Regions from separate parts of the Homo sapiens genome. Here region 2 is linked to region 1. Evidence: promoter capture Hi-C in human tissues and cell types (Jung and others, 2019). All regions are on one chromosome and are shown on one strand. The core of a region is centred on a gene start or on the middle of the fragment in contact, and the rest is flanking DNA. Distances in the headings are between cores, read along the strand shown.

The links. Contacts are between HindIII fragments. The study calls those that stand out against the background at their distance.
Region 2: a fragment that was not itself captured here is called in contact with the fragment with the promoter of PPIC in region 1 in 1 of the 25 tissues and cell types used here (aorta).

Annotation. Positions count from the first base shown.
Region 1 is chr5:123,035,436-123,038,135 of GRCh38, forward strand. PPIC (peptidylprolyl isomerase C) reads right to left here and starts at 1,290. Exons shown (of 5, transcript NM_000943.5): 1 at 1,074-1,290. The coding sequence starts at 1,190. It overlaps PPIC-AS1 (PPIC antisense RNA 1), which reads left to right and starts at 487. Exons shown (of 2, transcript XR_001742868.2): 1 at 487-853. RefSeq lists silencers at 1-158, 1,467-1,516. The HindIII fragment of the contact is 11,652 bases long and covers 1-2,700 here.
Region 2 is chr5:123,275,912-123,278,611 of GRCh38, forward strand. No RefSeq gene overlaps it. Among named protein-coding and RNA genes, the nearest start is that of CEP120, 150 kb to the right of the region's middle. The HindIII fragment of the contact is 6,559 bases long and covers 1-2,700 here.

The sequences.
Region 1 (2,700 bases), core at 40-2,539:
TTTATCAGCCCCGCCCACAACGTGGCACGGCCTTTCTGCGACATCAGATGCTGAGCTGGACCTCCTCCTCCCCACCCCCTAGTCCTCCCCGTCCTCAGGTGGCGTCTGCGGTCGAGGATGTAAGCATTCTACTCGTTGATTAGTATCGTTTCCATTGACAAACCCCAGACTGATGAAGACCACTTTCAGCTGCAGCCCGCCCCCTCCAGCTTCAGCTTCGAAGACACTATTGCCAGTGGGTTTTCTAGAAGTGGTGATCATGGGCACCAAATTATCCCCTCCCTCTCCCTGCATTCTCCCATTATCGTCTACCCTTGGTTAAATACGCTGAAAAAAGAACTGAAGCGGAGTTAAGTACGAGGAAGCCTTAAAGACGCACTTTCTGGCAGCCCCCCGCCCCCTTTCCCCGCAGTGGAGGCTGCCCCAGGTCTACAGGTGCCGCCTTCGCCCGGCCTCGCGTAGCCCACAGCAGGGGCCGCCCGCCCGCCGAAGTTGAAGGCGCACCTCCCCTTCCCGGGAAGGACGACGGTTCCCCAAAAGAGGCGGAGGGTAGTCTCTCATCTGAACCAGGCGCTTTAATGCCTGCCTGAAGCCACCGCGGCCAGCGTGGAGACCACGCAGCGGGCGGGCGGCTGCAAGCCCTGGGCTCCGAGCGCCTCTCCTGTGCGGGTCCCGCCCCCCTCCCCGCATTCCTCTCGTTCTGCTCCCGAGCCCAGGCCACGCTGAAGGAAGTACTTGGGCAGTCTCTTTCCTGGAGAACGGGCCCGCCGGTTCCGGAAGCCTCTCCTACCCCCAGGCTGGTCACCTCGGACTACCGACCCGGGACAAGAAGTCCAAGCAGACTGCGGCGGAGGTAGGCTGGCCTCAGCCCAGCTCCCCCAGGGTCTCCCCCGGAGCGCCGGCCTCCCAGCACGCGAGCAGCCCCCTCCCACCCAGTCCCGCGGCCGCCTCCAGTCCCCCTGCGCCCGGGAAGCCTCCACCTCGCCCGCCCTGACACCGAGGTCCCAGTATCCAAAGCGCCCCCAGGGCCCCGCCCGCAACAGGGGAAGTTGCAGCCCGCCGCTCTCGGTCACCTTGGCCGTCACCGAGGGGCCTCGCTTGCGGAAGCCCTCGGCCCCCGAAGAAAACACAAGTGCGCCGAGCCCCACGCAAAGCACGAGAGGTAGCAGCAGCCGAGGACCCGGGCCCATGGTGAGCGGTGGCAGCGGCGCTACCGGCACGGGCGCTACCGGCACGGGCGCGACACAGGCTCTGGGACAGCTGACGGGACTGCCGGCCGGCTGCGCCTGCGCGCTCCCGGTTGCGGGGGATGGGGATCGGGCAGTCCGGGAAGGGCGGGGACCCGGGGCGCGTTCCTCCCAAGTTCAGACTCGCGACCCGAACTTGGGATTCGGAGGAGCGCGCCCACAGGGCGCAGCCAGGGCTCGACCGCCGCGCCTTAGGCGGGTGCGGAGGGCGCCAGGGACGGGAGGGAGCCCGGGTTGCCCAGGCGCGGAGCCGGGCGCAGCGGGCTAGGCTGGGAGCACCTCCAGGAATTTACCGCGTAGGCGCGGATTAAACTTGGACGGGAAGACCAGGACTCTCGGGCTTCCGCGTCCGCCCGGCAGCTAGCGCTCCGCGGGACTGGGAACTCTGCAGCCGGTCCCGGTGTGATTGCTGCCGCCTTGGGAGCAGCCTCCGCCGCGGCCGCCGAGTTCCAATGGCCCATTGGAACCTTTTGCTAGGTTTTGGACGCTTAGCAGAACTTTGACATCGCTGGAGGCGTGGAGCCCTGTTGCACTCGAATAATGGCCTCTCTTTGAGATGATTCACGTCTAGGGAACACTGGAAAATGCTGGATTCACAGTGCCCCTTTGCCTTCGAAAAACTTTTACATTGGCTTTAAGTACTTTATTTGGAGGATGATTCTGTGATCTTATCTACACTGTTCACAAGGCAGCACTTACACAGGCCCAGAACCATGGTCATGTAGGATTCTTTCCTGGGGAAACAAAGTAAATAAACTGACTTTTAGGTGTATCTGTAGGATGGATTTTTTACAAACTTAAGAATTATGTTTAGGAAGATTAATGACTGGGGAAGTAAGTTCTTATTATATTTTTAAATGGAAAATTCGGGTTGCAAAACCACAAATTCTGATCTCAACCGTGAAAATAAATATATCAAGGCACTTAAATATTGAAAGAGATGTACCACAACGTTTACAGTAGCTATAGATAGAATTGATAGCTATTGATAGACTTATGGATTTTTGAGGGTTTAAAAAAATTTTTTTTACAGTTTTCTGATTTCCCAGATGTTCTACAATGAGCATATAAGTATTTTATAACATGGAAAGGGTTATTTTAAAACTCATTGCTTTTTGAATTAGAATTTCAAAAGAACTTTTTTGTTTTAGAGTAACAGCCCTAAAATTAACTAAAAATTAGTGGTATTCGCACATAGGTGCCATTTTAAGGGGCTGGTGCCATTACTTTCAAGCCAAGATTTTCCTCGGATTAAGAGATGGAATTTCTAAATGTCAGATGGGATTCCTAGGTGTACCTAAGTGTAGATCTAAAATGACATTGGAACCATTAGAGATAAAAGGAGTAACCACTACTTCTTTGGGGTGAGAAAAAGGAGAAATGCAATTCTGAGCTATTTTTATGATTCAGTCCAGTGAAAGACCTAATGGCTTTCCTCTTCATCCCCACCCCC
Region 2 (2,700 bases), core at 20-2,519, 240 kb after region 1:
TCAAACGAAAGTGTGCCCAGGAAACCATACTTGACCCTTTGAGGGCTTTCTCTTGCCATGAGCTGTTAAAAGCAGCTGCTTCTCTGCTATATTAGGGCTTCCACCCCCATGCTACCAGAGGTCTGCCCTCGCTGTAAATTGAGGCTTTATTGAATCACTGTTTATAATAGCAGAAGACTGGAAATGATCTCTATGCCCATCAGAAGGGGACTCATTAAGTGTCATCGAATTCTAAAATCCTTTAAAAATATTTCTGTAAAGTTACGTGTGCTAATATGCCATTGTCAAGTTATAGTGTGTAGAGACTGCATATAGAGCAGGCTGTCTGTGTATAATAAAATGTTTATTGTATGCATGGAATATTTTAAGAATTCTTAAGAAACTAGGAAAATTGGAGAACCAACGTCTGGTATAGAGAATAATTTGTGTTTTCCTTGTAGACCCTCTCTCACCATTGGAAATTTTAGCTATGTATATGTATTTTAGCTATGTAATTACTTTTTTAAAAAATTAACTAATTGAATTAACTAATGCCTTGGAAATTGGCATGGACTGAATGGTTGTCAGCAACACTACAGTGCCGAGCCAGTAGTTTTCAGTTCTTGCCTGTGTTTGTCAAGCAAGGGAGATGTCAGATAGCAGAGGGATTTTCATTTGAAACACTTTTCAGCTTGCATTTGACCACTTTGAAGAGGGAAACCAGACTTTGGAACCATTTTCAAGAATCAAATGTGTTCCGTGTTTCAAAGGATTTTAACTCTCAAATAGACCTTTCTCTGGAGCGACATTCCCCACTTTGAGAAACTAAAACAAGTAGCTTGTACCAAAAAAACAAGTATAAATTATGATTCCTTCTGATCAAACATGTAATGTCAAGTCTGAAAGAAAGAAAAAGAAACTTCCAAAACAGAGTCTGGTAGTGTTTCCATAAAACATGCCATGTGTTATACATTGCAAGGCACTAGCAAAGGAAGTCTATTAATAGAATTGAGAAAACATTAATAGGGGCCCACAAGGACCTGGTCATTTTTAAAGATATGAGAATGAACTCTTGGCTTTATAATTTTAGGGTTGTTAAAACACCTGCCAGCGGCACCTCTTATTGTGTGGATTTTTTTTTCCCATTACACTGTGTGTAAAAACCATTAAAGAAAACTCAAAGCCCTAATTGTGACACTCGATAAAGTGGTCAAGAAAAACTATGTTTACAAATCTGAAAATGTCACTGTGTGCTTTTATTAAGCCTCAGCCTCAAACTTCCAACCTGTGGGAAAGCTTAACAGCAGAGGTAATCTCTATAGAAAGGACCTACTAGTAAGCACAAATCATGTCAAGCAAAGGGGAAATTACGACAGGTGGATTTCAAAATAGCACAGATTTAATTTATCTGGGCCCAAACCTCTTCCATCAGGGTGACAAAGAAATGTAGTCACTGAAGGAGATGCTTCCAGAATCACTCTGTGTTTAAGTACCACAGCCCCAGGTCACCCTAGAGGTCCTGAGCTCCTTGGGTGGCCCTTTATTCTAATACCTCAGCCCATCCTATCCCCTTCCCAACTATGCGAACATCTTGACGGTGGGACTTGGAAACCTTCCTGCAATTTTTTGCCCTACTAGCTGATCAAATTCCTCATTCATTCCTTTGGGTTAAAGAATTAATACAGAATATTCCTAAGTGTTATGACACTATAAGCATAGTGTCATGACATAAGGCTCCTGGTGGAGCCGAGTGGACTTGGGGGTGAATCTTTTTTTTTTTTTTTTTTTTTTTTTTTTTTGAGACGGAGTCTCGCTCTGTCGCCCAGGTGGGACTGCGGACTGCAGTGGCGCAATCTCGGCTCACTGCAAGCTCCGCTTCCCGGGTTCACGCCATTCTCCTGCCTCAGCCTCCCGAGTAGCTGGGACTACAGGCGCCCGCCACCGCGCCCGGCTAATTTTTTTTGTATTTTTAGTAGAGACGGGGTTTCACCTTGTTAGCCAGGATGGTCTCGATCTCCTGACCTCATGATCCACCCGCCTCGGCCTCCCAAAGTGCTGGGATTACAGGCGTGAGCCACCGCGCCCGGCCGGGGGTGAATCTTATCACTACAAGCTAGTAGCTATAAGGCCTACCTCAGAGACTGAAGTGAAGACTGAAAATTATAAAGTGAGTCACCTGACACCAGAGACTCCTCACTCTAGAATAGGCACCCCCTTCTGGGACATCCAAATCCAGTTGGGAAGGCAGGCATGTGGACTAGTAATTACAGGAGCAATTAGTAGTAATTACAGGAATGATCAGAAAGATCATTCTAAGAGAAATGTGACCTAAGTCCTCAGAAGCCCAACGGGGAAAGCAGGTGGTTCAGGGGAGCCCCCTGACTTGGGGAGGTCAGGGTAGGGCCTCAGAAAGAGGAAACATTCTGAGCAGCCTTGAAACTCACCTGTCAGGTGGGGAGTCAGGGAACACCATTGTAAGTAAAGATAAAACAGCAGGTGGGAAGCTATGGCGCACTTGTAGGCCCTGGCACACAATGTGACAATGACTCATCTCTCATCTTGCACAAGTTTGGCTTTTGAGGGACTTGGATAACTCCATGAGGGCCGTGACATATGCAATACATGCCTCATAACCAGGGCTTGCCACACTGCGATTGCAGCAGGACAGAGAGCCCTCTTCCTCTACTCTGCAACACCTTGCGCACCTTTCTTCCCTTCCCA